Regions from separate parts of the Homo sapiens genome. Here all the other regions are linked to region 1. Evidence: promoter capture Hi-C in 16 types of primary human blood cells and fetal thymus (Javierre and others, 2016). All regions are on one chromosome and are shown on one strand. The core of a region is centred on a gene start or on the middle of the fragment in contact, and the rest is flanking DNA. Distances in the headings are between cores, read along the strand shown. Region 1 holds the start of PIK3C3 (phosphatidylinositol 3-kinase catalytic subunit type 3). Region 2 holds the start of ZNF397 (zinc finger protein 397). Region 3 holds the start of ZSCAN30 (zinc finger and SCAN domain containing 30). Region 4 holds the start of ZNF24 (zinc finger protein 24). Region 5 holds the start of RMP24 (ribonuclease MRP subunit p24). Region 6 holds the start of SLC39A6 (solute carrier family 39 member 6). Region 7 overlaps TPGS2 (tubulin polyglutamylase complex subunit 2).

What was found. Contacts are between HindIII fragments. The CHiCAGO score rates a contact against its expected background, and 5 or more counts as called.
Region 2: the fragment with the promoter of ZNF397 here is called in contact with the fragment with the promoter of PIK3C3 in region 1 in 6 of 17 cell types (non-activated CD4 T cells, activated CD4 T cells, naive CD4 T cells and 3 more); the score reaches 19.0 in non-activated CD4 T cells.
Region 3: the fragment with the promoter of ZSCAN30 here is called in contact with the fragment with the promoter of PIK3C3 in region 1 in 1 of 17 cell types (total CD4 T cells); the score reaches 6.4 in total CD4 T cells.
Region 4: the fragment with the promoter of ZNF24 here is called in contact with the fragment with the promoter of PIK3C3 in region 1 in 1 of 17 cell types (total CD4 T cells); the score reaches 6.4 in total CD4 T cells.
Region 5: a contact is called between the fragment with the promoter of RMP24 here and the fragment with the promoter of PIK3C3 in region 1, in 8 of 17 cell types (non-activated CD4 T cells, total CD4 T cells, naive CD8 T cells and 5 more). The highest score is 46.3, in non-activated CD4 T cells.
Region 6: the fragment with the promoter of SLC39A6 here is called in contact with the fragment with the promoter of PIK3C3 in region 1 in 8 of 17 cell types (non-activated CD4 T cells, fetal thymus, total CD4 T cells and 5 more); the score reaches 21.1 in non-activated CD4 T cells.
Region 7: a fragment that was not itself captured here is called in contact with the fragment with the promoter of PIK3C3 in region 1 in 2 of 17 cell types (total CD8 T cells and total CD4 T cells); the score reaches 7.2 in total CD8 T cells.

What each region holds. Positions count from the first base shown.
Region 1 is chr18:41,953,764-41,957,079 of GRCh38, reverse strand. PIK3C3 (phosphatidylinositol 3-kinase catalytic subunit type 3) reads right to left here and starts at 1,846. Exons shown (of 25, transcript NM_002647.4): 1 at 1,721-1,846. The coding sequence starts at 1,788. RefSeq lists an enhancer at 1,889-2,068. The HindIII fragment of the contact is 3,603 bases long and covers 1-3,109 here.
Region 2 is chr18:35,239,256-35,242,571 of GRCh38, reverse strand. ZNF397 (zinc finger protein 397) reads right to left here and starts at 1,538. Exons shown (of 4, transcript NM_001135178.3): 1 at 1,463-1,538; 2 at 1-181. The coding sequence starts at 101. RefSeq lists a silencer at 1,357-1,486 and enhancers at 1,276-1,801, 1,747-1,856. The HindIII fragment of the contact is 1,449 bases long and covers 956-2,404 here.
Region 3 is chr18:35,288,387-35,291,702 of GRCh38, reverse strand. It overlaps ZSCAN30 (zinc finger and SCAN domain containing 30), which reads left to right and starts at 1,474. Exons shown (of 4, transcript NM_001112734.4): 1 at 1,474-1,619. It also overlaps the pseudogene ZNF271P. RefSeq lists an enhancer at 1,198-1,357. The HindIII fragment of the contact is 2,453 bases long and covers 578-3,030 here.
Region 4 is chr18:35,342,726-35,346,041 of GRCh38, reverse strand. It overlaps ZNF24 (zinc finger protein 24), which reads left to right and starts at 1,622. Exons shown (of 4, transcript NM_006965.4): 1 at 1,622-1,682. It overlaps LOC124904283 (a long non-coding RNA gene), which reads right to left and starts at 1,988. Exons shown (of 2, transcript XR_007066337.1): 1 at 1,303-1,988. RefSeq lists a silencer at 1,395-1,564 and an enhancer at 2,245-2,304. The HindIII fragment of the contact is 2,541 bases long and covers 1,288-3,316 here.
Region 5 is chr18:35,971,170-35,974,485 of GRCh38, reverse strand. RMP24 (ribonuclease MRP subunit p24) reads right to left here and starts at 1,807. Exons shown (of 5, transcript NM_031446.5): 1 at 1,681-1,807; 2 at 1,579-1,601. The coding sequence starts at 1,757. It overlaps LOC105372066 (a long non-coding RNA gene), which reads left to right and starts at 2,035. Exons shown (of 4, transcript NR_188032.1): 1 at 2,035-2,088. RefSeq lists an enhancer at 1,125-2,017 and silencers at 1,937-2,086, 2,026-2,320. The HindIII fragment of the contact is 7,007 bases long and covers 1,270-3,316 here.
Region 6 is chr18:36,127,274-36,130,589 of GRCh38, reverse strand. SLC39A6 (solute carrier family 39 member 6) reads left to right here and starts at 1,250. Exons shown (of 10, transcript NM_012319.4): 1 at 1,250-1,476. ELP2 (elongator acetyltransferase complex subunit 2) reads right to left here and starts at 691. Exons shown (of 22, transcript NM_018255.4): 1 at 519-691. The coding sequence starts at 656. RefSeq lists enhancers at 440-649, 441-946, 810-999, 1,030-1,324, 947-1,452. The HindIII fragment of the contact is 4,684 bases long and covers 1-1,772 here.
Region 7 is chr18:36,817,724-36,821,039 of GRCh38, reverse strand. It overlaps TPGS2 (tubulin polyglutamylase complex subunit 2), which reads left to right. Exons shown (of 7, transcript NM_015476.4): 2 at 2,067-2,146. Among named protein-coding and RNA genes, the nearest start is that of TPGS2, 9.6 kb to the left of the region's middle. The HindIII fragment of the contact is 1,891 bases long and covers 673-2,563 here.

The sequences.
Region 1 (3,316 bases), core at 597-3,096:
TTACTTTTAACTGCATGTTTTTATTCTACTCTTTCCATTTTTTTCTTTTACTATGCATATGCATTGTCTGATCATTTCTTTAAAACAGTGGTATAAGTCATAAATAGATATGCACAGGATACTATCACAGAGGGAGGAACATTTTTTAGACATCAAGATTACATCAGATACTGTGCCAGGCATTTTATATTTTCTTTCTTACATAATTTTCACCATATTCTCATTTTATAAATGAGGAAACAGAGACTTATAAACTAAACTCCTTATCCACAGTCACAACGTAAGTAACAGAGCTGAGAATAAACACTAGGGCAGGGAGGCCAAAGCCAATATTCTTCCCATTACAGTAAGATAAATCAGAGTCTCAAGAGTACTTAGGCTGGCATGGGGAAGGGACTTAGTACCCCAGATAGATGTCTGAAATGATCCTGAACAATGCATGAGAGTTGAAGCAAAAGAAGCAGAACGTCATCCCAAAGGGAAAGGAGACAGAGTGAGACCCTGTCTCCAAAAAAAAAAAAAAAAAAAAAAGGGACCGGTTTTTTTGGCTTTTTCTTTATTTTTAATGTTCAAACATTTCAAAAAATGCATTCATATATCCAAGAAATACTGAGCATCAAGCTGAAGGAAAGCCCTTTATCAATATTGATCCTGTATAAACTACTAGTGGTGTATGCTATGGAAAATACCTTAAATGAGTGTATAAAGTATCATACAAAGGTACAAGGTGGTTGTTGACATATTACTTTTACCACCACCACCACAAACTAAAAAGTAAAGTATTTGTCAGCGAATAAGGGACTTCTGAAAATAAAATGAAATGATCATTCAAAGGTACATCAGACAACTGAGAAAATTTATCTATCACTTACTGCAGGCCTTTGACCGACACATATTTGTTGAATATTAATTGAACATACACAAGAAATGTTTATTAATTATGGATGATGCTATGGTCAATAATTTGTGATAGCTTTGACAACACTCCTACATGACCACCTTAAAAGGGACATAATTTCCAACTCTGTCTTGTGCATCCCTCGTCATTATACCAGTTCTATTATCCTCATCTCAAGATATCACGCCCTTGACCTTTACTTCAGCCGTGGTGCCCCAACGTTTTCCTGCAAAGACTCTTTTCTCCTATCTTCTTGGTACCTTTGAAACTGGAACCCTCATCTTCGACTTACTCCCAACTTCCCTGACTAAACACTGCCATACTACCCAAAGATTCACTCTAGGCCTCTATCACCTCCCGTGCTAATACACCATGTGCTCATCTTATTCTCAACTATCGCATCTGCCTGTGTCTACCTCTCCATAATTTCTGAAGCCTTCATTCCACCCTACAAGCCCCGTTCCAAAATAAAGATCGTCCTCTTACTTACGACGAGACTTGATTTCTTAATTTACAATGAAATAGTAATAAACTCTCAAAAGGCTGAACAGCAAAAACTTTAAAGACTGTAAAATACAGCGGAACTTAAGGGCTATTCCTACTGCTGTGCTTCTCACGGAGACCACGTATTAAATCCTTTTCCAAAAGAGCCCCTCTCCACGATCCACTCTCTCGCGCCTCCCTGGCTACAGCCCTCACAGCCGCCCCCAATCTGGGCCTTGAGACGAGTCACGTACTTTCTGCCTCTCACTCCCAACAGGCCCCTGCCCCCACGTCCCTACGCCCCAGCAATCCCACTCCCTGTCCCGAGTGTTCTCTTACATCTTAAGCTGGACGTTGATATCCAGGTCACAACTATAGATGTAGTGAAACTTCTCTGCTTCCCCCATCGCACCGTCTGCAAAGGTACCACCTACAGCGGGAACTTAGGTACAGGAAAAACAACATAAATGAACCAGCTGAGCCCCACAACACGGAACTTCCGGTTCCGCCCCCGCCAGCAAGCCGCCAATCCACGCCCGGAGCGAGTTCCGACGCGGCGGAACTCCCCGCCGAAACAACCCTTCCGCGCATGTGCACAAGGCGCCCACCATCTTGCTTAAGGGCAAATGTATACGGGAAACGGCTAATCTGGTTACATTCCAGTTTTCCTGTCTTGACAGCACTTTTTTTTTTTTTTAAAGAAAAAGAGACGCTATCATTTGAGCTTGAGCTGTACCTAAAACAATACGAAAGAAAATTCAATTCAAAAAGAATTATAACAGCTTTCACTGGCTGCCGGCTAAACAGGTTACAAGCACAAAAATTGGAATTTTGCCAGGTTTAAATTCCAGTGGCCTTCCCAAAAAGTGTAGCACTAATTTGCTATCTCAAGCAAGGATTTTCTCTTTCTGCTCTAAAGAGTAGGGAAAGGACTAAATAGAGAATAAATAAATCTGGGTTTCATGTTTGGTGTTGTCAGTATTCATGCTACTTTGGACATAATACTTGCGTGCATGTTTAAACTGGGAATATTCAAATTCAATGTAGTTTCAAGCCCTAACCCAAGTTAGAATCTAGAGGCCTCCTGTAATAACTACAGAACACAGATCTCTAAACCCTCTGAGCTCCTATAATGTTTGTTTTTATAATTATTATAATCTAAAATTGTAATACTCCCTTCCAATTAGATTGAAAACTCTTGGAAGGTAAGACCAGTGTGCCATTTACTTCCGTGTCTTGCCCCGCTAGCTGTCTAATGCATTGCTGAGTTTAATACTTCCTACTTACTGGTTATTAATGATGATATTGAATGAAAGTCTCCATTTTCTATGCCTTTATTTCTTTTTTTTTTTTTTTTTTGAGATGGAGTTTTGCTATTGTCGCCCAGGCTGGCACCATCTCGGCTCACTGCAACCTCCATCTCCTGGGTTCAAGCGATTCTCCTGCATCAGCCTCCCAAGTAGCTGGGATTACAGGCACCCGCCACCCAGTCAGGCTAATTTTTGTATTTTTAATAGAGATGGGGTTTCACCATGTTGGCCAGTCGGGTCTCAAACTCCTAACCTCCAGTGATCTGCCTGCCCTGGCCTCCCAAACTGCTATGTCATTTCTTTTTTTTTTTTTTTTTTTTTTTTTGAGACAGAGTCGCTCTGTTGCCCAGGCTGGAGTGCCCGTCTCTCTGTTGCCCAGGCTGGAGTGCAGTGGCGCGATCTCGGCTCACTGCAAGCTTCACCTCCCAGGTTCATGCCATTCTCCTGCCTCAGCCCCCCAAGTAGCTGGGACTTCAGGTGCCCGCCGTCACGCGCGGCTAATTTTTTGTATTTTTTAGTAGAGTCAGGGTTTCACCGTGTTAGCCAGGATGGTCTCGATTTCCTGACCTCGTGATCCGCCCTCCTCGGCCTCCCAAAGTGCTGGGATTACAGGCGTGAGCCACCT
Region 2 (3,316 bases), core at 289-2,788, 6.7 Mb after region 1:
TCATCCCAGGAAAAGTTATCTTCTACTTTCACTAGTATTAGTTCTTGTTCCGGAGGATCCTGAGGTATCAGGGTTGAAATCACTCCAGATTCCACAGCCATTCTTGGCTGAAACAGCTTAGCAAAAAGCTCAGTACAACTGGTTCTGTGCTTGCGAAGGAGTGTGAGTAATCTCTTCTTTCCTGAAGGATATAAAAGCAGTTAACTTACAGCAATCAATAAAATCTCTAAGTACTTGTAATAAGAAAGATGAGTAACTTTAGTAATATATTGAAAGGGAGTAGATTTGGGGCTATCACTAAATAAAACAATAATGTGATGATAAACTAAAAATCATTAACCTCAATTAGTGTCTCCCATTATGAAGAATTCCTACCACTAATGTTAGAAAAAACTATTTTAGAAGCCTAAGAATGTGAATGCAACATTAACATCAATCACATAGTGAGAAAATTTCCTTTCCAATTCTTTCAATTCTGATTGTATCAAGGAGAAAAGTCTATCTTTAACATGTATGTATTAATAAAACTTGTAGAACTCTCTTTTAAATAAAATACAGGCTTCAGAATCAGACTTCCAAGAGTAAAAATATTTAGGCAGAATTTAGTAATACTGATTTTAAACATTTATTTTTACTTACTTTCTATCTAAAGCAAGTAATGTTGATTTTCATTTAAGGCAGTAATAACGTTTTTTTAAAAGTTCACATTAAACATGAGTTGATGTAAATATTGGATATTTGTCATTTGATCGCATTTGGTGTTTACCGAATTACTTCAACAAACACTGAGGCACTTACTGAGCATTAAGATTTTTGCTTATGAATAAACGAGTCTACAGAGGAATTGACCAAGAACCAAGACGTATCTGTAAAATGCTTACCATGTGTTCAAAAACATGATAGGTATCACATACACAAAAGCAGCAAAGAGATCCGTATCAGTTCTGAAAAAGCTTAGAATATCCCAAGACTAAAAATGTTCAAAAGCAAAATATGGTAACAAATAGGTATTAAATGTTGTGACACAGACCAAACTTGACCTGCTTTTAGGATGGCGAGATATCGATAGGAATGTATGCCCTTAGTTTGTCAGGACAGATGAGTAAAATTCATTCCTCACACTACGGTTAACGTTAAGAGATGAATTAAAATATTTAGCCTACAAATTTAAGGTTTAACCAGTCCGGCCGCACTAACTAACTAACTAACTAGCCCTTCTATTTTTATATCCTTGGTTAAACCGCAGCATTTACGAAGTCACGGGGTCAGCGGAACTGCGTTTTCCTTTGGAAAGCAGGAGTTTGAGTGCTGGCCTCCTCTGAGTTCCCCAGTCGCTTGGAGACGCCGCGCGGGCCAAAGGGCCGCGACCTGGGGATGGGCAGGCCGAGGAGCGGAGCTCCTCCACTGTCCGGCGCGCGCTCCCAACCCCACCTCCCTCTTCCTAGGGGCCCACGTCCCTCACCGCGAAGCCCAGGAGCGGCCAGGAAATGAGCCACCCACCCCGAGCTGCAAGCCACAAAGACCGGAAGTGCGCGTACGCAGTGTTCCGCTCTCGCGCCCTTCGGGTCCTCCGCCGCCCCGCCCCTTGCTCTGAGGTAGCCAATCAGAGCCGCGGGCTCTACAGTTTCCACCGCCTTCTCCCGGTAGCCGCTAGCCCGGCGGAATCTCCAAGGCCAGGGGAGGGTGCGCTAGGAGTCAGGGGTCCTTGTGAGCGGCGGCACCTGGAGGGTCCCGCATCTCGCCTGGGCCGTTCCCACCCTGGCTTTCTCCTGGCACCACCCATCATTGTTGGTCTCAAGTAATTCCCGAATCTCACTCCCAGTTTTCCATTAAAATATTCAGATTTTCGGCCGGGCGCGGTGGCCGAGGCGGGCGGATCACGAGGTCAGGAGATAGAGACCATCCTGGCTAACACGGTGAAACCCCGTCTCTACTAAAAATACAAAAATTTAGCTGGGCATGTTGGCGGGCGCCTGTAGTTCCAGCTACTCGGGAGGCTGAGGCAGGAGAATGGCGTGAACCCGGGAGGCGGAGCTTGCAGTGAACTGAGATGTGCTGCACTCCAGCCTGGGCGACAGAGCGAGACTCTGTCTCAAAAAAAAAAAAAAAAAAAAAACCTCAGATTTTCCTGTGATTCCAGTTCTTTTCCGACAAAAGTAAATGTAAGGATGAATAGGCTGAACAAAAACTAACAGTCACTTATATTGCTTTTGCCTATGAGTATCACTGGAGCCTTACAACAGTTCTGTGCTGTGGCTATATAATCCCAAATTTACAGCCGTAGACATCGCCCAAAGTCAGGCAACTTGTGACCAGGGACGTCCACGTCCCCATAGTTCAAGGAGACTGGTATCGTAGACTCCTGGAGCCTATCTTAGGGTCTTCCCGTTCTTCAGTGGAAGCTTGCTGGTATTGTCTCACTGTTTAAATTTTTCTTTGGCTATTTAGTCGGTGAAAAATGATGCCTCATGTTTCAACTTTGTGAGCTTAAGATAGTCCCCCTTCATGTTTACTGACCATTTATGGTTCTTCAGAGATGGCTTTTCCCATTTAAAAAATTAAGGGAGTAAGATTTTTCTTTTTTATTTGTGAGAATTTTTTGCTTATTAAGGATAGCAACTCGTTTGTTGCAAATCGTTTCCCATTTATTTGTATTTATTTTTAAAACGTTACATTTTACATGTTTAAATGTTACATATTTTTAAAATGTTATATTAAAAAAGTACACAGGATAATAACAAAGCGATACATACATACATAGAAACAAATTCTCCTTTGTGAGCCAAGACTTAAAACACATATTTGAGAAAAATGTTCGTTAGCATTCAAAGCTATTAGTGACTCACTAAATAATTTTATCATTGTGAAATGACTACAGCAATTTTACAAAGCAAAAAACCAAATAATATTAATTTGTTTATAAATTATCAATTGCTTCATAATGAACCACTTCAAGACTTAGTGACTAAAAACAGCAGATGTTTTATTGCTCACAGTTCTGTTGCCAGGAATTCAGGAAGGGCTTAGCGGAGATGGCTAGTCTGCTTTATGATGTGTCAGCTATCTTCACTTAACTGGGGTGGAAGGTCCAAGATGGCTTCACTCAAATTGCTGAAGTCTTGGTGTTGCCTCTTGGTTGAAGTTACTTGATTCTTCTCCACAAGGCCTCTCTCCATTCAGGAGTTTAGCCTAAGCTTTCTTACATGGTGACTGGCTTCCAAGAGAGTTAAGGAGGAGGAAAGATGCTAATTCTCTTAAAGCCTGAGTCTGGAACTGGCATTATATTTTTCTGCAGTATTCCATGACAGAAGGACTA
Region 3 (3,316 bases), core at 225-2,724, 6.7 Mb after region 1:
TCTTTATTCTGGAGTAATACATAGATACAAATCTCAAAATAACTTCAAGGTATGAAGTACTATGCACTTGAAAAGTGAGGAAACAGAATCGTAAAATATATGAGTAACTTACTGGAGCCAGTTAAGTGACAAAACTACTGTTTGAATCTAGGTTGTCAGACTCCAGAACTTTTAACTATGCCCCTACAGTAGATAAGAAAAATGACCAAAACTGACAGATTAGCAATGAGGTCATTATACAGGGAAAAATGAATGACTTTGGGGTCTTAAAAAAGTGGAGAGAGCTGCATGAGAATTTGATCGCCAGATTTTGAAATAAAGTCATGTGACTATGCTTGGTACACTAAAGAGGTAATACTGCCTAACAGAGTTAAGGGGGATCATTTGAAGACACTAGCATAGAGTGACACCCCCTCATCCTCCCCACCCCGCCAAAGCCACTAAGAAAGATATAATACCCTGCCTCTCACCTGACAGAAGGTGGTGTTCCTGAGATTCATAATTGAACTGGATCTCCATGGGCTGCAACTGGACACCTCAGTGTGCAAGTGGAGAATTACCATTTCCTCTGTAAGCTTTTCTTGTCCACATAAAGGTCTGGGACCTGGAGGCAACTGGGCACCACTGGGCTTGGAAGGGAATCATTGTGCTGACTACAGATGTAATCTCTGAGACTAGACCACCAGAAAAATCCTCAAGATATAAAAGAAGGAGAAAACAAAAAATCTCATTTGACTTCCAGTTGCTTTTCTCTCAGAATGTATTAGGCTTCCTCCCCATCATCCAAGAGCCAGGGATTAACCCACTTAAGACACACATTCCCCATTCCAAGTCTAGAGATGTTCAAACAAAATTAGGGGTTAATGCTACCAAAAAAAGGTATAACTGGAAAGATAACGCAGAGAGGGGAATTTTACAGTGAATTCTAGTGGTTAACACTATGTTATTCGCTGCCCTTCCTATCCAAAAATGACACTACTGATCATTTTTCTTCCTTTTGCTTTTACAACATTCACAAATTCAGGTGGCTCTTTCCCAGTACGGTAGGCTGATTCGTATGGATGCACCACGGTTGGTGACTCCCCCCACCCCACAGAGTTTCTGGCGTTCATTCGGTTGAACCCAAGGCCAGCAAGGGCTGACTGGGAACAAACCGAACACTAGGCCGTGAACCAATCGTCTCTCCGTGCCCGGGAGCGACCCCGGGGGCCTTCACTCTCCAAGGACTCGAGAAACCATGCACAGTTTCCTGCTCGTTAGGCAAGATCACCCGGAACTCCTCTGCTATCCGCGAGCCGACATCACCCTTACCTCGACTTGGTCACCGGACCGCTGTGAAGCCTCACACCCGGCGAACCTGCCATCGCCCTGTCCGCTCTAGGAATCTGGGAGGAGTGCTCAGCTCTATGGCGCTTCACCGCGCAGGCGCAGGGCGGGGGTGGGGCACCGGGTGACGGAGGGCTGCCGAGAATTAACCCCCGAACCGCCGCGAGCTGTCCCTAGCAGTGCCTTAGCCAGGGACCTGCTTGGCCAGCGACAGATCCTTTGCTGCTCTGTCTGCCGGTTCTTGAGGTGAATGTCGGAATCCATTATCTTTCGGGAAAGCTCTCTGGGGCAGGGTAGGTTTTCTTACTACATACAAGTTCTTAATTAGTTATCGTTTTTTAAATAACCACCCCTCCCCCTATCGCTTATCTGATTCGTAGGTATGCTTTAATTCTAACTTTCTTCCTGTCCTCTCTGGTTTTTCACACCCCCAGAAGAGTAGCGCGCATCAGAATCACCTGGAGGCCTTGTTAAAATACTGACTTCTGCCCCACAACTCCGGAGTTGCTGATTTAGTAGTGGGGGAGGGGGCGGTGGCAGCCCAGGTTCTCAGGTGATCCTGAAGCTGTTGGTCCTGGGACCACATTTTGAGAACCACTGCCCAAGAAATAAGTGATGCTCAGTAATTAATCCCTGAATTAACGGAAAGTTGGATTTTTATCTACTTTGCAATCTAGAAAGGGTACGAGGTCTATTTAAGGTTTGCTTGCTAGAACAATTCTCACTGATCAGGGTGAGAAGGACCCGAAATGGAGGGTGCGGGGTAATCAGGGTAGGAAAGGATATTGCTGTGTTCATGGAAATATCTTGGGAAATGAGGAGTTGGGACCTCATTTCTGTTGAGACCAATGAGACGTGTGACTTGGTTTAAGCTGTCCGGTGGGGAAAGGAAGAGGTTTGAGAAAATGGTGGGTGGCTAAGTGGTAGTTGAGGTGGAGGAAGAGGGCTTCCTGTCCCAGCCCAAGTCCCTGTTGGGATATATGAAATTTAGGGATGTATGACTAAGCCCTTAATATAACCGTAAGAGGAAAGAGATGTGGGAACTTGAGTCCAACCCTCCCAAGTAGGGAGTGCAGATAGTTTTAAAAAAACAGCTTTCTTTTTGGCCAGGCGCAGCTTAGGCCTGTAATCCTAAAACTTTGGGAGGTTGAGGCAGGTGGATCACCTGAGATCAGGAGTTGGAGACCAGCCTGGCCAACAAGGTGAAACCCTGTCTCTACTACAAATACAAAAATTAGCTGGGCATGGTGGTGTGCGCCTTTAATCCCAGCTACTTGGGAGGCCGAGTCAGGAGAATCGCGTGAACCCATGAACCCAGGAGGCGGAGGTTGCAGTGAGCCGAGATTGCGCCACTGCACTCCAGCCTGGGTGACAAAGCGAGACTTTGTCTCAAAACAAAACAAAACAAAACAAAACAAAACAGCTTTATTGAGGTATAACTGACATAAACAGCAAATATTTAAAGGATATAATTTGATAAGGCTTGTTAAATGAATACAGCTGTGGAACTATCACTGCAATCAAAATAATATGTTTATTACATCTAAACCCCAAAAGTTTCCTCCTGCCCGTTGGTAAGCCTCTCTCCCAATGCCCCCTCCACTGGTCAGCTGTTACTAGAGATTAGTTTGCATTTTCTAGATATTTATTTAAATGGAATCATACAGAATGTCCTTGTTTTTGTCAGAGTTGTTTCACTAAGCTTTTATTTTGAGATTTATCTTTATTGCTGTGTGTATCAATAGTTAATTTTTGTTGCTGAATAATATTCCATTGTATGTATATACCACAGTTTGTTTATCCAATCACCAGTTCATGGGCATTTGGGTTATTCCAGGTTTTTACTGTTACAAGTAAAGCTGAGAACATTCATGTACACACGTCTTTATATGGACATATGCTTTTTTCCCCCTCTCTCATGGTAGATGTACATTTAATGTTTAAAAAAACCCACACTACTTTTCAGAGTGGCTGTATCATTTTGCATTCC
Region 4 (3,316 bases), core at 373-2,872, 6.6 Mb after region 1:
TAACTTCCTCAAGGTTAGGTTTCAGATTTATTATTTTTGTTTTCCAACATTAATTAGATGTAAAAACTCTTAAAACAAAAATGCCTTCAGCTAGCCTTTACAAATCAGATAAGAGGGAAAGGTTGGGAAGAGCAGCCAAGTTGCTTAGGGGCCGTATCCAAGTAGCAGAGTGAAAAGGCTGTACTTCTGAAGCTTCCTGCAATGGAGAGAAGTGTTAGCAGGGGTTGTGAGAAGAGCTCTGGTCGGAATGAAAAGCAGTGGTATACCATCAGCTGCTCGCTCACTTGCTCTCTCATGCACGAATCCAGCGGAGCCTGACGGCACTTTTCAGAGGGCATTTTCTCCAATGAGGCAAAAAGTCAAAGCCTGAGGATCTTGAAATGCTTATGTTAGGCTGGATCTACACTTTTGACCAGTCCTTAAACAACAGGGCTCCTTTGTGTGGTGTCTGATGCCAATCATGTGACCTAGCTAAAGGCAGCAATGTAACCATCCCACAATTCATTTATTTATTCAACAAATATTTATTGAGTTCTCTATTTACCAGGCAGTCAGCTTCCAGGATCTAGGATGGGATACTGTGGTGAGCAAGACAGACAAGGTCCCTGCCCTTAAGGGACTTAAAGACAAAACAAAACAAAAAATAAAACAAGTAAATAAATGAGATCACTTCCATTAATAACAGTGCCATGAAGGGTCATGCGCCATGAAAGGCAGGTGGTGAGGCTGAGGATCTTGGGCCACAATGAGCCGAGGAGCTGAGGTGACTGGGGGCGCCAGGGTCTGGGGGTGCGGGCAGGCAACAGACCACAGGGGACTTACAGGCCATTATAAGGAGTTTTTATGTCATAAATTATTATGACATAAATTGGAGGGCTTTAAATAGGGGAGTGAAGTGGTCTGATTTGTAATTTTAAATGATCGCGTCAGCAGTTGTTTTATGGTATAAAATGCCCAGCTTTAAGATGACCATGCATTCTACAAATTCACCGTGACATCACTGCCAAAACTCTTAACCTGTCTTATCTAGTTTTCCTGACAGATAAATAGGTCGGAATAAAGCTCCATGACATAACTAGTGGGAGCCAAAGATTTGAATCACGTCTTGGTTTCAAATCTTGCTACCCACAAATGAGTTGTGAGCTCTTGTCAGGTTATTTACTGTATTTGTGCCTCAACTATCTCAGCTGTGAAATGGGGATAATGAAAGTTCCTACATCATTTATTTGTGGAAAAAAAAATGACATGTAAAGCACGACGAGAGCGCCTGGCACAATGTAGTAAGCTTTCACAAACACTCACTTTCATTCCTTCTTGCAGGGGATTACTGAGAGGATCCACAAGATAATGCACGTGAAAGGGCTTGCGAAATTGTAAGGACTATCTTAATGGTAGAGTCCTCTTTATGTTTTCTTTTAAACGGTCCAGAGGACGCTGGGCTGTTCGAGGAGAGGCGCGAGGCCAAGCGCAGCCTCAATGCGGTCATTGTCGTGGGGCCGCCCCTCCCCCGCCCGGGGCGCTTCTCCATGGCAACGTGGGCTTTACCTCTCCCCGCCTCCTCAGGCCCGCAGACCGGAAGCAGCCCGCGCCGGGGGCTTCTGGGAAAAGGCTTGTGAACGGCGTTTCTGCGTCTGCCGTGGACAGCGAAGCTGCTGCGGTTCCTGAGCCGGAGGTTTGCGCCGGTGTGCGGGGAACGTTATGAGAGGGAGGGGGGACACCGGGCTAGGGTCTGCGGACCTCTTAGCAGGAGCCGGCGGGGAAGCCTGTCCGGGACCTTCCTCAGCTTCCCGGGAGGCGCGGGGAACAGGCCGCGGTCTCCGCGCCTAGCAGTTGTGGGGCGGGGAGGGGTAGGCGGCAGGCCTGCTTGGGTCTTCGGCATTTGCAGAGAGCTCTCTAACCCCCTGTGTCCTCCGAGACCCTCACCTTCCCCCTCCCCCACCGGCCGGTTTTGTTCTATTTCGAGGCCCTGGCGTCTCGCGGAGGGTTCTGGGAGTCGTGATGGGAGGGGGTGGTAGTGGGACGAGACTTGCGCGGGGCTTCTGGGATTTGTAGTCTCACCGGCCGCAGGCGGAAGTGCCGTGGTTCCGACGCTGTTGTCACAGGGTGGCCTTTGGTCATCTGAAATCCGCGGTCCTGAGTGCTGGGAAGAGGGGCTAGAGGACGTCGGGCCGGGGCCGGGGCCGGGGCCGGGATACACAGCAGGTCTATGCAGCAGTAAGGTGGGCGATCCACCTGGGACGAGGTACCCTGCCCAAACATTGTCGGGACCGTGGGCCTTCCCTCCATTTCCCACAAGCGGTATGCTCTACAGCATAAAAGGAAGAGAAAATTATGTAGAAATACTTGCACCGTTGATAAGCAGGGTCTTGGAATAGGAACGAATGAATGTTGGCTAGACCTTATGTATAAGGCCACCACACTCCAGGGTATTTAATTAAACCAGTATGTATTACTTGTCTGATAAGGCCTTTTCTGATTCTAGTCTTCATCTTGCTTGGGTTACAATAAGTTTTTTTAAGTTGTTATTGTTCAGATTTTGGGCCCTGAATAAATAAATAGGCTGAATGGCTCATTGCTAGTATGTGTCGTAAACAACAGCACGGGCATGATCGTGCAAATAATAAAGGTCCAGAAGCAGTATACAGTTTCACTGAAGGTAGAAGCTGGGGAAACTGTGAGTCCTCCAGTGTAAGGACAAGACACTGGACCACTGCAGGAAGTCAAGGTGCTTATGCGAGTGCCTTTTCTTAATAGAAGTTTCTGTGATTAATGCCTATCATTATAAATATAAATGTACGTATGGTGTGGTGGAAGACTGAATATTTACGTATTATGTGCAAGATAATTTTTCAAAATTATGTGATGTTTTTCACATATGATCTTTTCAATATTATGTGATCTGCTACTCAGCAAGTGAACATTTTTTCACATATAAGTCCAAGGAGTTCTTAAACACCTTAAAAATATTTTTTAAATGGTAAAGAAAATTTTTTTAAGCACATAATAATAAAGCGAACCTTCCTTTTGAGTTGACTTGTGTGTGTCAGGAAACACCAATCCTGAATTGGAAATAATGCGTTCCAGGGTCAGGCACATTTAGAAAGCACTGAAGTAGTCTGGTTCTTACTTGGATTCTTTTGATTATTGACATAGGGTTTGTCGTCTTAGTAGGTCATGATTGGCAAACTTTTTCTGTAAGCGGCCATATAGTAAATAAGGTCATGCATAACTCAACGATAGTGCTATGGTCTGAGAAATATGTTAGGCTATTTCATCCTTGTGTGAACGTCATAGAATGTACTTGCACAAACCTAAA
Region 5 (3,316 bases), core at 558-3,057, 6.0 Mb after region 1:
CTACTGTTGAGCACTGTGCTAAGTGCCAGGGATGCAACAGCACTTATAAAGCTAAAGACCACACTTAAACTTAGCTCTGCCAAATGTGAAACTCATTCATATTCACTAAGTGACAATTAAGAATGCCAGGCACTGTTCTAAGTGCTGGAGACACAGCAGTGAACAAAGGACAATTCACCGAGGCATACAATAAATATAACAACGTCAAATGTTAAGTGCTGGGAATAAAAAAGTAAGATAGGAGGGGGGAATAGAAGTATTGATGGAGTTACTGTAATTTTAAATAGGTGGCTAGGGAAAGCTTCATTGAGTGATATTATAGAGACCAGAGGGAAATGGAGGATTCACATGAAAGCAGATATGTGAGGCAAGAATCCCAGGCAGAGTGAAGAGTACCTGCAAAGGCCCTGAAACAGAAAAGCAAGGAGACCTAGTGTGACTGGAGTTGCGTGAAGGAAAGAGTACGTCAGAGAGGTATGCAGGTCTATGACACAGGGCCTTACAATCCTTTTAAAGGACTTTCACTTTTATTAATCCAGGAGAGAGCTGGTGATGGCCTGGAGCAGGGTAGTAGCAATGGATGTGGTGAGGAGTGGAGTGCAATGGCGCCATCTCCGCTCACTGCAACCTCCACCTCCCGGGTTCAAGAGATTCTCATGCCTCACCCTCTCGAGTAGCTGGGATTACAGGCGTGCACCACCATGCCAGGTAATTTTTTTGTATTTTTAGTAGAGACAGCGTTTCGCCATGTTGGCCAGGTTGGTCTCGAACTCCTGGCCTCAAATGATCCGCCCGCCTCTGCATCTCAAAGTGCTGGGATTACAGGGGTGAGCCACCGCTCCTGGCTGATTTTGGCTACATTTTAAAGCCAACAGGATTTGCTCGCATACTGGCCTGGGGGAGGAGAGAGAGTTAGGGAGTCAAGAATAGCTCCAAGGTTTTTGGGCTCAATAACTGTAAGGGAAGAATGGAATTATTTACTGAAATGAGAAAAACTGGAGGATCTTGTTGGGGGTTAAAGCTCAGGTTTTGGACATATTAGCTAAGTTTGAATTACTAGACATTGAAAAGAATTTGTCAAGAAGACATTCGGATATATGAGTCTAGAATTCAGAGGAGAGGTCTGCGCTGAGTATATACATTTGTAAGTCCTCAGTATATGGTATTTAAAAGCCATGAGATTGGATGAAAAACTGTCACCAAGGAAGCGAGTGTGCCTAGAAAAGAGGTCCAAGGGCTGAGTACTGGGCCACGACAATACTTAAAGCTTGGGGAGATTAGGAGGAACCAGCAAAGCAAATCGAGAAGTAATAAATGAAGAGGTGAACTACGTAATGACCTAGAAGCCAAGGGAGGAAACTATTTCAAGACTGATCAATGTGTCAAATGCCGCTAACAAAGCAAGACAAGGCACATTAAAGAATTTGGATTTTTCACGAAACCGAGACACATGCGGGCTTTGTTGTTGTTGTTTTTATGGAGGGAAGTGAGTCCATCGGCCTTATTTGAGCGTTGTGCGGAACAGAGGAAAGCGGGGCGACAAGAGCCCAAAGCACAAGAGACAGGCGTTCTTCTTACCGTGCGACGAAGTGTAGGCCCAGCTGTAAAAGAGAAAGAGACTTGTGAGGAGCAAAGGAACACCTACCCGCTCGCCTCCCGCTTCCCCTCCAGTCCTCTTACAGGAGGTAGCGGGCTTGGCCCGGGCAGCTGTCGTGCAGTCCCCGCGCTGCAGCCTCAAGGTAGTGCTTCTGTCTCATCGCCGCCGCCGCTGCCGCTGGCTCGCCGCGGGAACCAGGTGAGAAAATAGGGCGCCGGAAGTCGGCTTCCCAGCGTCCCCGTCGTTGGTGTCCGGACTCAAGCTGCTTCCGGAAACAGGCACCGTAGGCAGACAGGTTCCGGTTTCCTTCGCGTCCAGTCTGGCTTGGAGGCGTGCCCAGCCGGGAGGCGGCCCCACCCGCCCGCCGCGTCCCCGCCCCCTCAGTTCCACCCCTTGGCCTGCCGGGTCCTCTCAGGCACCCAGCGGAGTTTCGAGTCAGACTTGAGCTCGGGCGTAGCGGCTAGACCGGGCTGTGGCGATAGAGTCCAAAGGTGAGGCTCCCACCCGCCTCTCCATCTTCCTCCCGCCTCGCCTCCTCTCTGACAGCCCTTTTGTGATTGCCCTGCCGCAGCTTCGCCCTCCACATTCGCCGGGCGCGGTACTGACTGGTGCGCCGGCGGGCGGAAGCGCTGCCAGCAACGAGGCGGCCGGGAGGAGCGTCCCCAGTCCAGCCTGCCCTCCGCCTGCGTAAACGCTAGCGTTTCTCTTTTTGTAATTAAAGTGAAATTCACATAACGTAATATTGACCATTTTAAGGTGAACAATTCAGTGGCGTTTAGTAAATTTACAATGTTGTGCAAGCACCATTCTGCTATTTCCAAAATATTTCGCCGAAGGACAGCCAACTCCATGAAGCACTTACGGCCAATCCTCCTCTCCCTCCCAGGCCTTGGCAACCACCAGTCCGCTTTCTGTCTCTATGGATTTACCTATTCTGGGCATTTCATGTAAATGGAATCATACACACGACCTTTTGTGTCTGGCTTCCTTCACCTAGCATAATGTATCAGGTTCATCCACCTTGCAGCACGTATCAGTACTTCATTCGTTGTTATGGCTGAATAATATTCCATTGTATGGCGGTATCACAATGGTTTATCCATTCATCAGTTGAACGTTTGAATTGTTTCTACTTTTTGGCTGTTATGAATGAATGCCGCTGTGAACATGTGTGTACATGCATTTGTTTGAGTGCCTTTTTTCTGTTCTTCGGGGTATAATACCTAAGAGTAGATCTGCTGGGTTATGTAGTAATTCTGTGCTTAATGAGGGTTCCAGTTTCTCCGTATCCTCACCAACATTTGCTTTTCTTTTTCTTTTTTTTTTAAATCTAGCCTTCCTAGTGAGTATGATGTAGCATCTCATTGTGGTTTTGATTAACATTTCCCTGACTACTGATGCTTTTGAGCAGCTTTTCATGTGCTTGTTGGCAATTTATGTATCTTTGGCTGTTTAAGTTCTTTGCTCATTTTTTATTGGAGTTGTCTTTTTGTTGATAAGTTGTAAGGTTCTTTTAATGTGTATGTTCTGGATAGTGGACCCTTATTTAGCCTGCTTTATTTATTTATCTGAGATGGGATCTCACTCTGTTGCTCAGGCTGGAGTGCAGTCGTGTGATCACAGTTCACTGCATTCTTGAATTCCTGGGCTGGGTTAAAGGGTTCTCTTGCCTCAGCCTCCCTAGTAGCTGGGAACCAGGCACACTACCATGCGTAGGTA
Region 6 (3,316 bases), core at 1-2,500, 5.8 Mb after region 1:
TCCCCTATGACCTTTCCCCCAAACTGACACTTTCTCTAAAATGTCCATTCCCGTAGCTAAAACACAGGTAACATTTCCTTGAAATTCAATACAACAAAAGTTCATTAACCAAAACTGAAGGAAATACTGAAATGAGATTGCACCTGTGGGATGATGGTTTTAATCTACATATAAATTTCAATTGTTTTAAAACCCAAATTGATTAACGGTACTACAGTTCCCAAGGAAGGCTTCAGGTAAGATGCTTATCATTCGGGTTTCTGCGTGGGACTAACAGGTTACTAGCAGCTCATGGGCAGCAATGACCCTAGGATGACGCCACGCGTGAGACGGCAAAGGGTGAGGGGTGAGGAGCGAGTCCGGCAGGTCCACTGGAGACTCCGAGCCCAAACCCCGCTCCCCTGAGCCGACCCGACTCGCCTCCTAGGTCTGGGGCGGCAACTAACAGCGCGCCCGGAGCACGTCCACAGGTTCAACCCGAAAAGCACAAGGGTCGGCCGTCCAGCGACCTCTCTTACCAGGGGGTCATAGAGCACCACGGAGCAGGACGTGCCAAAGGCCAGAAGTCCTCTGGGCCCAGAGCTCCAGTTCAGGACTCCCCGCACCCGGTTTGGGCAGCAAAACACGTGAGAAGTCTCCAGCACGGGTGCCACCATGTCGCCAACTGGTCAGCCGCACAAACAAGAGACGCGCACTTCCGCCCTCGGAGCGGAACTACTAGGGTGGTTTCTCCTGAGGCATCACCCAGTCCACGTTTCGCAGCCAGCCGAGGGCCAGACGGAGGCAGCCCCGCCCCCCTGAGACTCTCCGTTCCCACCGCAGGCTGGAACCCCTGTGCAAGGCCGCCGCTTTGCTAGCTCTGCTCTTGGACCGTGGCCCCGCTCCGCGAACGAGCCAGGCCTTTGTCTCAAGAGCGAAATCCGACCCGAGTGGCTCGGGACCCTCCCGAAGGACCCGGGGCTCATGTGCCTGGGGCAGCGTCAGAAACATCTCGCTGCCCCTTACGACCCGGCTCCCAGCAGCAGCCAGGGCTGGCCCCGGGGGCGCTGGCTAGCGAGTAGGGCCTCGAGGAAATGACCCCCAACTGCTTACAATGCGCTAGGGCCGCGCCACGCCCCCGCGGCGTCGGCGAACACACGGAAAAGCGGATCCGTCTGCGGAGCCGGGTTCCGGGGTCGCACTGCGCATGCCCTGCAGTCCTGGGCGAAGGGGGCGGTGGTTCCCCGCGGCGCTGCGCGCGGCGGTAATTAGTGATTGTCTTCCAGCTTCGCGAAGGCTAGGGGCGCGGCTGCCGGGTGGCTGCGCGGCGCTGCCCCCGGACCGAGGGGCAGCCAACCCAATGAAACCACCGCGTGTTCGCGCCTGGTAGAGATTTCTCGAAGACACCAGTGGGCCCGTTCCGAGCCCTCTGGACCGCCCGTGTGGAACCAAACCTGCGCGCGTGGCCGGGCCGTGGGACAACGAGGCCGCGGAGACGTGAGTCTTTCAGGTCCGGGAGCAGGGCGGCTGGGAGGGGAGCTCCTCAGGCCAGACAGGCGTGGCGGGGTAGGGGTGGTTCTGCGGAGAACCGGATCCTGCGGACCGGGCAGGGGGGCTACAGAAAGAGGATGCTGGGGGGAGCCCGCCGCAGGCGCCCACTCACCCTAGAGAGCCGGACTTCTTAAGGTGCTCAGATGGGCTTCGGGGTGCAACGGAGGATTTTTTGAGGAAAAGATCCGTACTTTTCATCCCATATTCGAAGAAGGGACTGACGTGTTTAGAAATAAAAAGCTTTTAGAAGAGAGCTTTGTGCCCTCTTTTCCGTTTTCTGTACTCGCCTTTTTCTCTAAGGCCCTTCCCTTCTGCTTTCCTTTTTCCTCCAGCACACACCAACTTGCAGGAAAGGAGATCCTTCAACGGGTCCACGACCGCGCTCAGCATCCTCCCTGGAGAAAGGCTCGGAGCTGTCCCCTGTGCTAGTCCCCTCCCACCCCGCTCCTCGCCTCTCTCCTGGGAATGATTTCTAAATGTTTATCTTTTACCTAGTAAAAGAATTCCCGAAACTTCAAGCCCCAAAGATTCCTCTTTCAGGAGCCTCGTTCTACGCCGTACCTCCATTTCCCACTGTTCCCTGTATGATACCTCGCACTTGTGCAACACATGAGTTTAACGAGTACTTGTAATATACATTCCTTCATGTGTTTTCCTCCTTCGCCTTGCAAAATAGGTTTTACCGGTATTTTAGATAAGGTAATGAATGCGAGAGCCCTGTCCAAAGAACAGCTGACCGTGGTAGAGCTGGATAGCCCCATGCTCTTGCTTAGTTGTAAACTTGACGTCTGCGTCTTTTGCTGGAGATGTGAGTTTGACCACCATCACCTCCACCGTTGGTGCTGGACATCCTGCTGGATCTGAATTAACTGAATTCTGGCTCTGCTTAACTGAATTCTGCTTTTCAAGCTCCAACTCAATTGCTTCCTCCTCTTTGGGGCACAGGCCTTTGGTTCCAAACACTACTGTGGATGATTAACAGCCTGTGATTAAATGTTGACTGGTTTGTAGTAACACAAGGATGCTACAGTGAGTTTTTCATGAAGTTCAGTTTACTTTAAGAATTCTATGTATGGACATAATGTGTCTGATTCATTGTCAAGTCGGAAAAAAGATTCAATGTGTATTTAAAGTATACACTTATTTGAGGCTGGGCGTAGTGGTCACGCCTGTAATCCCAGCACTTTGGGAATTGGAGGTGGAGGATCTCTTGAGGCCAGGAGTTCAAGACCAACCCGGACAACATAGTGAGACCTCGTCTCTAGAAAAAAAAAAAAAAAACTTTAAAAAAAAAATTAAGTATACATGTATTTGAGTATGCATAGAAAATATCCTGAGGGATACACTGGCAAAATTGAGCACCTTTGAGGATTGTGATTGGGGAAAGGGGTCTTAAATGGGCTTGTATGTAAGGAGAGTGTATTAGTTTAAAATTTTTTAAATATGTGAATTCTGAGATTATTATTTCTATTTTTTGGTGTTTGAAGGTTATTTTATGAAATGATGGTGATGATCAAGGTAGCTAGATTTCATTTCGTTCTTTTTTTTTTTTGAGACAGGGTTTCACAATGTTGCCCAGGCTGGTCACAAACTCCTGGCCTCAGGTGATCTGCCTGCCTCAGCCTCCCAAAGTGCTGGGATTATAGGCATGAGCCACCACACCCAGCCTAGATTTAATTATGAATCATTGGCCTCAATGATTCAAATAATCGTTCAAATAAATTCTCAACTTCAGTAAGCAGTTGATGGCTGTGGCCACATGGATCTCCCTTGTCTCTGAATTACT
Region 7 (3,316 bases), core at 369-2,868, 5.1 Mb after region 1:
GAAGGAATTGACAGCACCCACCTTTGGAGTAAGCTACCACAGAGAGTTTTAATCCACGGCATATCTAAAGATGTGAGTTTCATCTCTCTTACTCTGCCATGCAGGTTATTCCAGCCAGGTGGCTGACAAATGCTTGTCATTGGTCACAAAGGCAGGACAGGGAGAATGGCTATGCCTATTCAGATATTGCTTCTCATATATGGCATCTTGATAGGCCAAGAACAATGTATAATTTCTATTGCTTTCCAAACATCCGCAAAATGTTTTTAGTTATCTCACCAAAATGATAGGCTACTAAGACAACATGATAAAAACAGCATTAGGTTTGGTGTCCACAGCTTTGGTCAGAGATTTCATTTTATGAATTACTTAACATCTTTGAACCTCGGTTTCCTTATCCTTAAAACGAGGGTAAGGATACCTGCTTTACAAGATTGTTGAAAGATTAAATAGGATAATTTATGCCCATTTCCTGTAACAGAGAATTATACAAATGGAATTTATTGCATGCCCTTCTCTTCCATATCCCCAACACCACCTCCTCACCAATTCTGAAGTACTGTGTCGGATATAGGAGTCTCTACAATGGATACTTCCTAAGCAACTTACTATCTGAAAGTTATTAAAGTCAACATGTTGGCCAATTACCTTGCCATGGGAGTATTCCAAGCTTAAGTATGACATGACCACATCTGCAGTAGCATCACAGTAGTTTTGTCTGAACCTATAACCCTTCCATGGAGGCCTGTTATAAACAGTAAATAATTGTATGTGTCCTCTTTCAAACCCAAGGTCTATTTTTACTTACTGAAGGTAAAGGGAAGTGAAGACCCATCTAAGGTCATACAACTAGTAAATGTATAAAGCAAGACTAGAATAGGTAGAGTCTAGAATTCTTAGTTCCTATATTGGGCTATTGCTGCATCCCAAGATTTGAGTTTCTGGCAACTTGGAGGAAATTTTATAATGCATAAAAAGGACACTGGCTTAATTATAGGATCAGTGAACCACATAAAATGATTAGAAGTTTCTGCCATATTCCTAGAGATTTTAAAAACTGAAGCTACCCTCCTGTGTCAGCCTCCCAAGTAGTGGGGACAACATGTATGCACTGCCATACCTGGCTACATGTTGTTCTTTTTATGAGGAGGGCACCAATCATTGGACTAGGGATCTACTCTACTTCAGTATGACCTCATCTAAACTAATTATGTCTGCAGTAACTCTATTCCCAAATAAGGTCATATTCTGAGGTACTGGGGGTTAGGACTTCAATATCTATTTTTGTGGGGGTGGGGACAGAATTCAAGTCATAACAGCTTTTATGACAAATTTTAAGTCTTGGATTAAGGACTTCAGAATCTTGAGTCTGCATGGCCACAGACAAGTGGAGAATGTTGGAGGAGGTATTGAACTCTGTAGTATTCCCAGGTGGCTTCTGCTCTCCCTCAGAGTGAATGATAGAACACAGCTCCACAAAGAGAAGCAGACCAGATTATTTGGAGACCTTTTCCCGCTTCAAGGATTTAGAAATATGACTTAACTTTTTTCTTAGTATATTTTTGGATGGAATCCATTTTTTATGTTAACCCAGCTTTGAAATCCTAGACCTCACAGAGTAGAAGGTTATGTTCAAGATGAGTTTTATTTAGAAGAAAAGTTAATAAGCAAGTTTTATGTCTTATAAAAGTTAATGGGTTGCTATTCTTTATTTCTTTTCACTTTATCCTGAGTATATAGATTTAGCTCACTGAGAATTTCTGTGTGAAATCATTAGGAATCTACAATCTCTGTTTTTTGTTCAATAAGATTAATGACTGAGCAATGACAGTATAGAGCACAGTCTGTGGATATCCTTTCTATCAGGTAGACTACATTGTCCTAGGTTATGGGACCATGCCTTTCAGAGGCCAACCAGTTCTCTGCTTTCATTACAGGGGTAATAAGTGTTCATGAGAAGGATTGGATGTTCTTAAGAGCAGTCATCAACAGTTAGTCAACAACTAGCGTAGAAATGTATGACAGCGGACCAATTGCAACTCTACAGACTCTTTTTTCTCTTCCAGAATCTTCCCCAGGTGTGACTGAGGTGACCATCATAGAAAAGCCTCCTGCTGAACGTCATATGATTTCTTCCTGGGAACAAGTAAGTGTTGCCACATGAACTCTACCTCCCATCAAAGAGAGGTCAGTGTAAATGTCCCTGAGAAGGAAAGATTAGGGGAGGAAGAATATTTACTCAGACCACAGCTGCTTTCAAGGTAGAGTTTACCTTTTCTATGTTCCTGTTCAGCCCACTTAACAGTTCCTTTCATTCTATGCCACTTACCCAGCATGGAGTGTTTCCCCTGAGCCCCACTCTCCTACAGAAGCAGTGGACATTCAAAGTTGTGTACAACAAAGCTAAAAATCAATTAAGGAAAAGAAAGGATATGTGTTAATAAGTGTCATGCTGTCCAGAACATGATTAAGTGTTGCACATAACTACTAAGCAGATTAAAAGCTAATGCTTTCCAACTTTCCTCTGAACTTCAATTCGTTTATTCAATAAAAGTTTTAAGCTTCTACAGTGGGCCAGACATTGTGCTTGGTGTTGAGCCCTGGGGATTAAATGGTAATATTTTTTTTTTTTTTTTGAGACAGAGTCTTGCTCTGTCTCCCAGATTAAATGGTAATTTTTTAAAAGGCACTGTTTTTGCCTCTTGATCTTACTGCCTAAGACATAGTATAGATTGTTATGAATGTAATTACTAACTGGCCTGAGTACTGTGAAAGAGAGGTAAAGGGAGCATTGTCTGGAGACCTGCCCTAGTCTAGAGGTTGAGAAAAGTTTTCCCAAAGAAGCAATAAGAAATTGTTAACCAGGTAGATGGGATCTAGGAAGATGGGACTTTCAGCCTCTATGAAAGCTTCAAGATGGGAAGGATTACATTGTTCTGAGATCACAAAGAAGGAGCACAGGAGAGCAAGGTAGAGAGAGCTCAGCAAGGACCAGGACATTTAGGGCTTCATAGGTCTTCAGCAGTTTACTCCTTATCCTGGAAGCAAAGGGGAGTCATTGAAATGTTTTAAGTAGGGAACTTTGAAGTTAGATTTATACTTGAAAGGACCACTGTGGCTGTAGAGTAACAAATGGATTTGACTGGGGCAAGTGGCAACAAATTGCCCTACCATTTAATAAATACCTGCTAACACTTACCCCATAAGTCATTCCATACTAAATGAATAATAACCCTGCAAGGTGGGTATTGGTATCTCCATTTTATAGATGAAGAAACAGAGGCTGAAAGAGTTTAAAGAATTTGGCCGGCACAGT